Linked DNA regions of Homo sapiens: regions 2 and 3 are each linked to region 1. The links are contacts of gene promoters, found by promoter capture Hi-C in human tissues and cell types (Jung and others, 2019). All regions are on one chromosome and are shown on one strand. The core of a region is centred on a gene start or on the middle of the fragment in contact, and the rest is flanking DNA. Distances in the headings are between cores, read along the strand shown. Region 1 holds the start of SPEF2 (sperm flagellar 2). Region 2 overlaps UGT3A2 (UDP glycosyltransferase family 3 member A2). Region 3 has its middle 68 kb from the start of PRLR.

What was found. Contacts are between HindIII fragments. The study calls those that stand out against the background at their distance.
Region 2: a fragment that was not itself captured here is called in contact with the fragment with the promoter of SPEF2 in region 1 in 1 of the 25 tissues and cell types used here (liver).
Region 3: a contact is called between a fragment that was not itself captured here and the fragment with the promoter of SPEF2 in region 1, in 1 of the 25 tissues and cell types used here (hippocampus).

What each region holds. Positions count from the first base shown.
Region 1 is chr5:35,616,051-35,619,303 of GRCh38, reverse strand. It overlaps SPEF2 (sperm flagellar 2), which reads right to left and starts at 1,441. Exons shown (of 37, transcript NM_024867.4): 1 at 1,249-1,441. The coding sequence starts at 1,306. RefSeq lists an enhancer at 591-1,398. The HindIII fragment of the contact is 9,985 bases long and covers 1-3,253 here.
Region 2 is chr5:36,052,820-36,056,072 of GRCh38, reverse strand. The region is part of intron 2 of UGT3A2 (UDP glycosyltransferase family 3 member A2); the gene reads left to right. Among named protein-coding and RNA genes, the nearest start is that of UGT3A2, 12 kb to the left of the region's middle. The HindIII fragment of the contact is 9,095 bases long and covers 1-3,253 here.
Region 3 is chr5:35,296,483-35,299,735 of GRCh38, reverse strand. No RefSeq gene overlaps it. Among named protein-coding and RNA genes, the nearest start is that of PRLR, 68 kb to the right of the region's middle. The HindIII fragment of the contact is 7,725 bases long and covers 1-3,253 here.

The DNA.
Region 1 (3,253 bases), core at 192-2,691:
TTTTATTTTGGCTCCTATGGTGAGACAGGAATAAGAAACAATAAATGCTAAATATTGTCCTCAGTCCATCATATTTTAGCAAATAAACAGTTGGAGACACAATGGGATAATCGTAGAATACCAGGAAAGAATTTATTGCAGTTCACAGGGAGTGTGTAGATGGTTATTTGACAAAGAAAGAGTCTGAGGTTTATGCCTCAAGAAATGCAACAGGAGATGCTCCGTGCTAAAGATCCTCATGCTGAGAGTATTAATAACTACTTTGCACCCACAGAAACACTACCGATCTAGCAACTTCTGTAGATAAGCTAAGGTTGAACTGGCACCACTGCCTCTCTGGTAGCAAGCTGGTGTTAAGCAAGTTCTTCTGGGAAAATGGACTGAAATGACTTGCCCTGAAAACCTCTTCCCTTAAGCAAAAAAAGAAAAAAAGACAAACAAAACCAACTGAAAAATGAACTCCTGAAGAATTACAGGGCAGTCAAGGAAGCTGCCAGCATGTAAAATTGTCTCTGTGGTTGTCAGACTTGGAAACTTTGGGTGGCAACTGCATGGTTAGGATAAAATTAGGTTGGTGAATAAGGTCAGCTTTGGGCAAGAGCCAATAGTGACCAGAAATAGCTAGTTTGTGATTTGGGGCTTAAAATTTACTAAAATTTGTAAATGTTAACATATTCTACATTAACTTATTTTTCACCCACCCTCCCCTGCTGGTCAGTTAAGTATGGAAAGCATTATTAGGTCCATTTTATAGAGAAGGAAACACATTCAGAGAAGGTATTGTAACTTGTCCAGTGGCTTCATATTTCATCGACTAGCCACCACACCATGCTTCTGCTTCTGGTGATGTGAAGGAGGCATCGTTGGGGTCAGACTACAAAGTCCAGCAAAGTTCCCTCTCCACAGAAGCAAAGGAGACCTTCCTAAACCCTCTGATTGCCTAGAACCACATCACAAAGTCAGAATGCCTGCGGGTTGGGCCCACCGTGACAAGGGTAACTCGAGAGCGGCAGAGTGGGGACGTGACAAGGCCTTGCCCTGGCTGGGGTGAGCTGTAGGGAGGTGGCGGGACGGACCTGGGGCACCGCCGAGCCGAGTTGCTCACTGTGGGATGCTGCCGGCTACGCAGGTGCCCCACCTGTGCAGCTCGCGCCCTGCCCGCCACCTTCCCTGAGTGCGCTGCGCTGCGCTGCAGGCTCTGCGCCCCGCTAGCCCCTCAGACGCTCGCCCCTGGCCGTGGTCACTCACTCACGGTCCGGGACACCTTCAACTCCTTGTTGAGCCACTGGCACAGGATCTCCGACATGGTTCAGCCGGTGCCTCAGACCGCAGGCGGGGGCTTAGAAACTCGCCAGGAACCAAGCCTGCCAGCCCGCGTCCTCCTGTAGCCAAGGGCAACCCTTTGCTATGGAAGCGTATCCAGGCTGGAACTAGGCGAAAGGCCTTAGAGAAGAGGGGACGCTAGGGCTCAGCCGCAGAGGACAGAAAATCGTGTTTCGCCACCTGCTGGCGGGTAAGACCTGAGCGTGCGCCAGCGCAGGAGGAAGCCGTTGGGGGCCTGTGAGAGAAGTTAGGGAGCAGTGGGTGTGGGGAGAGGCGAGGCGGGAACACTTAGGGACACAGCAGGAGCTTCTTAGGTGAGCAGAAAGTAAAACCAGAGTCTCCGCAGGGCTCCGTGGCTCACGCAAATAATCCTACCACTTTGTGGAGGGGGTGGCGCTCGACTGAGCCTGGGAGTTCAAGACCAGCCTGGGCAAGGTAGCAGAAACCGTTTTTTTTTCTGTAAGAAATTAGGCGGCCGTGGTGGCGTGCGCCTGTGGTCCCACCAGCTCAGGATGCTGACGTGGAAGGATCAACCCAGGAGGCGGAGTTTACAGTGAACCGAGATCGAGCCACTGCACTCCAGCCTGGGCAACAAAATGAGACTCTGTCTCAAAAAAGAAGAAGAAAGAAGAAAGAATAACAAGAAGGAGAAGGAGAGGGAGAGGAAGAGGAGGAGGAGAAGAGGAAGAACAGGAGGAAAAGAAGAAAGAGAAGGAGAAGAAGGAGAACAAGGAGAAGGAGGAGAACAAGGAGAGATCAAAGAAGAGGAAGAAGAAGAAAAAAGAAGAGGAAGAAAAAGAAGAAGGGTATTTGGGGTATCCATCACCTTGAGTATTTATCATTTATATACGTTGGTAACATTTCAAATCTTCTCTTCTAGCTATTTTGAAATATACAATGTATCATTGCTAACTATAGTCACCCCAGTTGCTAGCTAACATTAGACCCTATTTCTTCCATCTAACTATAAGTTTGTACCCATTCACCAACCTCTCTTCATTTCCCCTTCCCACCCTCACATCCTTTCCAGTCTCTGGTACTCATAATTTTGTTCTCTATCTCCAGGGGATCAACTTTTTTAGCTACCACATATGAGTAAAACATGCAGTATTTGTCTTTCTGTTGCCTGGCCTATTTCATTGAACATAATGGCCTCCAGTTCATCCATGTTGCTGCAAATGACCTGTTTTCATTCTTTTCCATGGACAAATGGTATTCCGTTATGTATATATACCATTCTTTCTTTTTCCATTTGTTCGCTGATGGACACTTAGATTTATTCCATATCTTGGCTATTTTGAATAGTTCTGTGATAAACATGTGAGTGCAGGTATCCCTTTGATATACTGACTTCTTTTCCTTTGGATAGATACACTGTAGTGGAACTGCTGGATTTTATGGCAGTTCTGTTTTTAGTTTTTTGAGAAACCTCCATACTGCCTTCCATAGTGGTCATACTAATTTACATCCCCACCAACAGTATGAGTTCCCTTTTCTCCACATCTTCTCCAGCATCTGTTGTTTTTTGTCTTTTTAATAATAACCATTCTAACTGGGGTAAGATGGTATTTTATTGTGGTTTTGATATGCATTTGATAATTAGAGATGATGAATTTTTTCATATACCTGTTGGCCATTTGTACCTCTTCTTTTGAGAAATGTCTATCCGTGTCCTTTGCACACTTTTTAGTGGGATTGTTTGTTTTTTTAGTGTTGAGTTGTTTGAGTTTCTTGTATGTTGTGGATATGAGTCCCTTGTCAGATTAATAGTTTGCAAATATTTTCTTCCATTCAATGGGTTGTCTCTTCACTCCGTTGATTGTTTCATGTATTGTACAGAAGCTTTTTAGTTTAATATAGCCCCCAGTTGTCTATTTTTGTTTTAGTTGTCTGTGCTTTTGAGGTCTTATTCATAACATTTTTGCCTAGG
Region 2 (3,253 bases), core at 530-3,029, 440 kb before region 1:
CAATCAAGATGAAACTATCTCGTAAAGATGTGTGGAGGCTGGGCGCGGTGGCTCATGCCTGTAATCCTAGGAAATGAAACAAAGGAAAAGGAAATGAAACAAACAAAGGAAAACATGGAAAAGATGGATAGGACAAGATAATGACTAGTCTACACATAAAATAAAATATCTATTTCCGCAAATAAACATAAACAGAGGATCATCACTATCTCACAGACCTGGTGAAAAGGAATGAGAACATGTCCCTGAAAGGATATTTATTCTTGTTCAAAATAAACAGGTTGAAATGAAAAGGAAAAGGAATAGAAGTAAAATATTATTGCTACTTAGATCAGCAAGGTAGAGAGGAGGCACATGGAGTTGGGGATAAAAGAAAAGAAGTAAATGAGTAAAATAATTGAGGGGATATTACTATAAGGCAGCCAGCCAGATAAAAGATTTTAATGGTCCACATTACAGAGGCAACATATTAAAAGGATGATGAGGTGAACATCTAGACACTAGCTGGTGGTCTTGCTCTTCTAAAAGTCAGTGGATCCTAGGCCGGGCACAGTGGCTCACACCTGTAATCCCAGCACTTTGGGAGGCTGATGCAGGCGGATCACCTGAGGTCAGGTGTTTCAGACCAGCCTGGCCAACATGGTGCAACCCTGTCTCTACTAAAATACAAAAATTAGCCAGGCATGGTGGCTCGTGCCTGTAATCCCAGCTACTCAGAGGACCGAGGCACATGAATCGTTTGAACCTGGGAGGCAGAGGTTGCAGTGAGCCAAGATTGTGCCATGCACTCCAGCCTGGGTGGGTGACAGAACGAGACTCTGTCTAAAAAAAGAAAAAAAAAAACAAACTGCAGAGCAGCCTCTTGTTTAGTGGAATGAATTACTATGACATACCCACGAGGGTCACAAGGTACCCCCCCAAATTTTTTTTTTTGAGATGAAGTCTTGCTCTTGTCATGCAGGCTGGAGTGCCATGGTGTGATCTCAGCTCACTGCAACCTCCTCCTCCCAGGTTTAAGCGATTCTCCTGCCTCAGCCTCCCGGTACCCAAGAATTTTATACCTTCAGAAGTACTGCCAATTTGGACTAAAAGGTATGAGGAGAATATGACAGGGAGGAGAATATGACAGGAAGGAGGGCTGTTGAACTCCCCAGATTCTGCAAGTAGGAAATAAACTGACAAACCACTCAGCTGTAACCACATGCAACGATTCATGAAAAACGAAGGAAAACTCTGAAGGTGAAGCAATGAGCCCAGATGGCAGAGCTTCTAGCCCAGAAGGCTGAGCCAAACCACAGGATTATTTCCAGTCCTTAAAACCTAATTTTGTTTGCCCAGTTGGAGTCAAAATGTCTTGGGACTGGCACCTCATTTTTTTTTTTACTTTCTTTTTGCCCCCATTAGAATAATGTCTATAATTGGTATCCTATGCCTGTCCCACTATTGGTTTTGGGGAGCAGGTCATTTTTTCCTAGTTTCATAGATCCACAGAAGGAGAGCAATTTTGCCACTGAATGGATTACACCCAGACTCTCACCCACACTTGATGTAGATTATTTGGATGATGTGATTTGGGAATTCCGAGCTGATGAGCTTTAGATGAGATTTTTCACTTTGAATTGATAATATAATTGTTTGGGACTTTGGGGGATGTTGGGACAAGATGAATACATTTTCATTCCAAGAGGGGTGTATATGAATGTCTGGGATCTAGAGAACACTCTGTGGTAGGCAAATAATGCTCCCTCCCAAAGATATACATGTCTGAATTCCTATAATTATGAATGTGCTATTTTACATGTTCGAAAGGCAAAAGGATCTTTGCAGATGTGATTAATATAAGGATTTTGAGACAGGGAGACTATCATGGATTACCCAGGTGAATCCAGTTTAAATGCAAGAGTTCTTATAAGGCAAGCTTGTCTAACTCGTGGCCCACCAGCTGCATGTGGCCCAGGACAGCTTTGAATGTGGCCCAACACAAATTCATAAACTTTCTTAAAACATTATGAGATTGTTTTTGCAATTTCTTTTTAGCTCATTAGCTATCATTAGTGTTACTGTATTTTATGTGTGGCCCAAGACAATTCTTCTTCTTCCAATGTGGCCCAGGGAAGCCAATAGATTGGACACCCCTGTTATAAAGGAAAGAAGATGGTAGGAGAGTTAAAGAAGTGATGATGGAAGAAGAAATCAGAGTGATGTGATTGCCTGTTGGAAGGGGGCCATGAGCCAGGGATGCAGGTAGCCTTGAGAAGCTGGAAAAGGCAAGAAAATGGATCGTTCCCCAGAGCCTCCAGAAGAAATGCAGCTCTACCCACACCTTGATTTTATTCTAATGAGACCCATTTTGGACTTCTGATCTCCAGAACTATAAGACAATACCTTGTGTTGTGTTAAGCAACTAAGTTTGTTGTAATTTGTTAAAGCAGCAATAGGAAACTGAAACAGCCATGATAGGTGCTCAGAAGAACTCCAGGAGGCATGAAAGGAGGATGCTAAAGCCTTTACAGTGCAGGTGTCCCTGGCGGGCACTAATGAGAGAGCCTGTTGTATTGCAACTTGGACAGATTCTAGAGCCTTCTGTTACAGGGGTTCCTATGCAATGTGGGCTGATTTTCAAGTAATAAACATGAGTGGACCTAAGTAAAATTTATAAATAAGGAATATGTTGTCTTTAAAGTGTAAAAAAGGCCTAAAAGATGTTGGGCTTGTAACATTATGGGCACAGAGATGCTCAATAATTGTTTCTTAATAGTATTGGGGATGGAGAGGTCTTCAACTAACCAAATGATCCTTTGGAATTTAAGTGAGGGACTGGGTCTGATACTTTGCATGGGACAATGGCTTATCCCCTTTGTGAGCTCCTTTTTGAATGTTTCTATGTCTTAAATGAGTGTGGCAAATGAATCTCCTCAGAGGAGGACACCCTCAATGTAATGTTATATCTGTACTCCTGGAGAAAGCTGGAAGCAGTGGCTCTTGCTGGCAAAGATTGTGGGCAATAGTAGGGCTGTTGAAGTATACTATGAGTAGCCATGCATTGTGTTTCTTCCAAGGTAAAGACACACTGTGGCTGAGAGCCTGTTAAAATCAGCATGGAAAAAAACATTCTAGCCAACTCTATGACTGCAAAGTATTTGCCAGTAGATACTTGGATAGAGTCTTTCATTTCAATTAGCTTGAGTATGAGGGCCTTAATATGTGGGGCTATCTGTTAACATACCCCCAATCCTTACACAAAATTTGATTT
Region 3 (3,253 bases), core at 429-2,928, 320 kb after region 1:
GCTATAAATAAAGACATTCACTGAAACATGATGTAAAATTCCTAAGTTTGTGTGTACATAAGGATATAAATTCAAAATATGCAGAGCGACATGTTCCTGAGCTAAAGATATTGACAAATTCACAAACATAACAAGAGATTTGAAAACATTTATATTAGCAATCTAAAGATCAAGCAGACAAAAAAATCTAAAAGATATAGATTATTTAAAAGAAAAATTTTAAATCTCAACTAATTTGTTGTACCCAACAATTTGAGAATACACATTTTTCTTAAGCATATATTGAACACTTACAAAAATTAGCCATATGTTAGACTATACAGGTAATATTAATAAATTCTAAAGATTGGCTATTCCACAGATCACATTTTCTCGCTACAAGGCAATTGAATTAAAAAATCAATAAAAAATTAACTAACAAATAATAACCTTTATTTGGAAATTTGAAAAACACACATAATTCTATTTAATTGATATTTAAAAAGACATCTTAGTAACATCTAAAAATAATTTTTAAAAAAATCACAAACAGAAAAATGTGTTCATTAAACCTAAAGCTGCACTTGGAGAGAGAAACTTACAGCCTATATGTTCACATCAGAAACGAATTCTCAAAATTAATGAGTTACAAACATCTCATAAAATAGTTTACAGAAAAAAACACAGGAGAATATATCCAAAGAAAGAGGGAAATAAAAATTAGAGGTAAGACCAGAAATTAGTGAAATTAAAAACACAGACATAACAGCGATATCAGCAATGCCAGAAATTGAATCTTTAAAAGCCCAGTAAAAGAGACAAACTTTGGAAATATTAATTAAGAGAAGAAAAAAAAAGGTTAAGCACAAGTAAACAGTGTTAGAAATGAAAAAGGGGACATGATAAAAGGTGCTATAGAAATTAACAGAAAATAAAAGAACATAGTGAAAGACTTTTGTCAGAAATGGATTAACTTTGGCTGAAATGGATAAATTTTTTGAAAAAAATACAACTTATTGAAATTCATTTAAAAAGAAATATTTCTACAATGTGTAAAAAAAATTGATTGGTAGGTAAAATCTTTCTCACACACACAAAATTACTAGGTCCACATAGCTTTACTGCCAGTCCTGTCATTCAAGAGACAGATAATTCCAGGCTTACACAAAATCTTCCTGAAAATAAAAAAGAAAAACAAAATCCCCCAAATCATGTTATGAGGCCAACCTAACCTTGTCATCAAATTCAAAGAGTAGTACAAGAAAGAAAATTACAAGGCCAGTCTCACTCATGAATACAGGTGGGAAAATTCTGCGTAAAATATCAGCACACCAAAACCAGTAATAATATGAAAGATAATTTTTCATGACCAATTGGGATTTGTCCTAGGAAAACAGGAAACTAATTATTTGTAATTCACTATGTTAAATTATTTGTAATTCACTGTATTAAATGGTTATTTTTTAAAGATATTTTAAAAAGCATTCAATAAAATGAAAATTCATTTGCAATAAAATCTCTCAGCACATTAGGAATTGGAGAGGTGCTCTTTATTTCCTTTTTGCCTTGCAGATCTATCCTCTGCCTACCTCTCCCTTGATCTGGCATCTGGGAGTCCAACCCCTAAGGGCTGCATCACTTAGGTGCCTTACCCTTAGCTGCATGTGAGCAAGAAATTCAAGGGTGGGAAGAGATGAGAAGAAAGTCAGGGTATTTCCTCCCTTCCCTGATGAATGCTGCAGCTCAGGCTATATAACTACAACTCCTACTAGACAGTCCCTTGTTCCAAGTCCAGCTCTCACTAGTATAGTAACAGCAGGTCTAGAAAAGATAAACAGCTTCCTATTACGTGCTTTACCATACGCTATTCATTGCCCTAGCTCTGTCTATGCCTATATAAATTTTCTTTCATTCAATACTCTTCAGAATTCCAGCTCATATGCTATTAACCTTTGTTACAGGTTGACTTGTATTCCGTCTTGAATTTGTATGTTGAAGTCCTAACCTCCAGGACCTCAGAATGTAACCATATTTGGAAATTAATAATTTAAAGAAGTAATTAAGTTAAAATGTGGTCTTTAGGACAGGCCCTAATCCAATATGACTGGTGTCTTTATAAGAAGAGATTAAGACATAGACACATACAGAGTACAGACTGAGGATACTAGCAGGAAGATGGTCTTCTACAAGCCAAGGAGAGAGGCCACAGAATAAAATTAACCCTGTCAACACCTTGATCTTGAACATCTCCACTCCAGAACAATAAGAAAACAAATTCCTGTTGTTTAAGTCATCCAGCCTGTGAAACTTTGTTTTGGCAGCACTAGCAAATTGATACAACTCATTAAAAGACATCTACAAAAAGACAAACAAGTAAAAAACAAAACAAGACACAGCAAACATAATTATTAACGATTAAATGTTAAAAGCATTTCCTTTAAGACTGGCAACAATGTAAAGATTCTATATATCACTAATTATATGGAGGTTCTAAAAAGTCTAGACAGTAAAACAAGAAGAAGGATTAGAGATATAAAAACAAAGCTATCATTATTTGCAGATTGTAAAATTGTCTACGTACAAAATTCAAAAATCTAAGGATAACTTATTAGAGTAAATAAGAGAGTTTAGTTAGTTTGCTTAATACAAAAGCAACGTACCAAAACTATTGGCATGTTTATATTCCAGCAATAATCATTTTAAAAAGGTAACTTTAAGTATTAGGTATTAATCCCAATAACAGTAACATGGTATACTTAGGAATAATTCTAACAAAAATACTCAAGGCCTGATAAAAAATATAAAATTTTGTAAAAGACAGTAGACAAATGAAAAGATATAAGCACCATGACCTTGATAGAAGGACTCAATATCATAAAATTATCAGTACTCTCTAAATAAATTCATAGCAGTTATGATCCATCTTGATAGATTGTTTCTTGAAAATTGCCAACCTGATCCTAAAATTAATATGAAAGAGATAAGACCCAAATTAGCCAATACACTTCTGCCAGCCACGAAGGCATATTATAAATCTACAGTTAAGATAGTGAGTCCCAACACAAGGTTGAATAAATAGAATCAATAGAATACAATATATCAGAAAAGCCAGAAACAAGCCCATGTAAAATGTAAATGATTTATGAAAAAATAATTGTGACCTACAGATAAGGGAGAAAATAATGGATTATAACAGCAAACAGTGCTGAAACAGTTGGGAACAATGTATAAAATCAATTCCATGTGGATTTAAGATTTAACATGAAAAAAACCC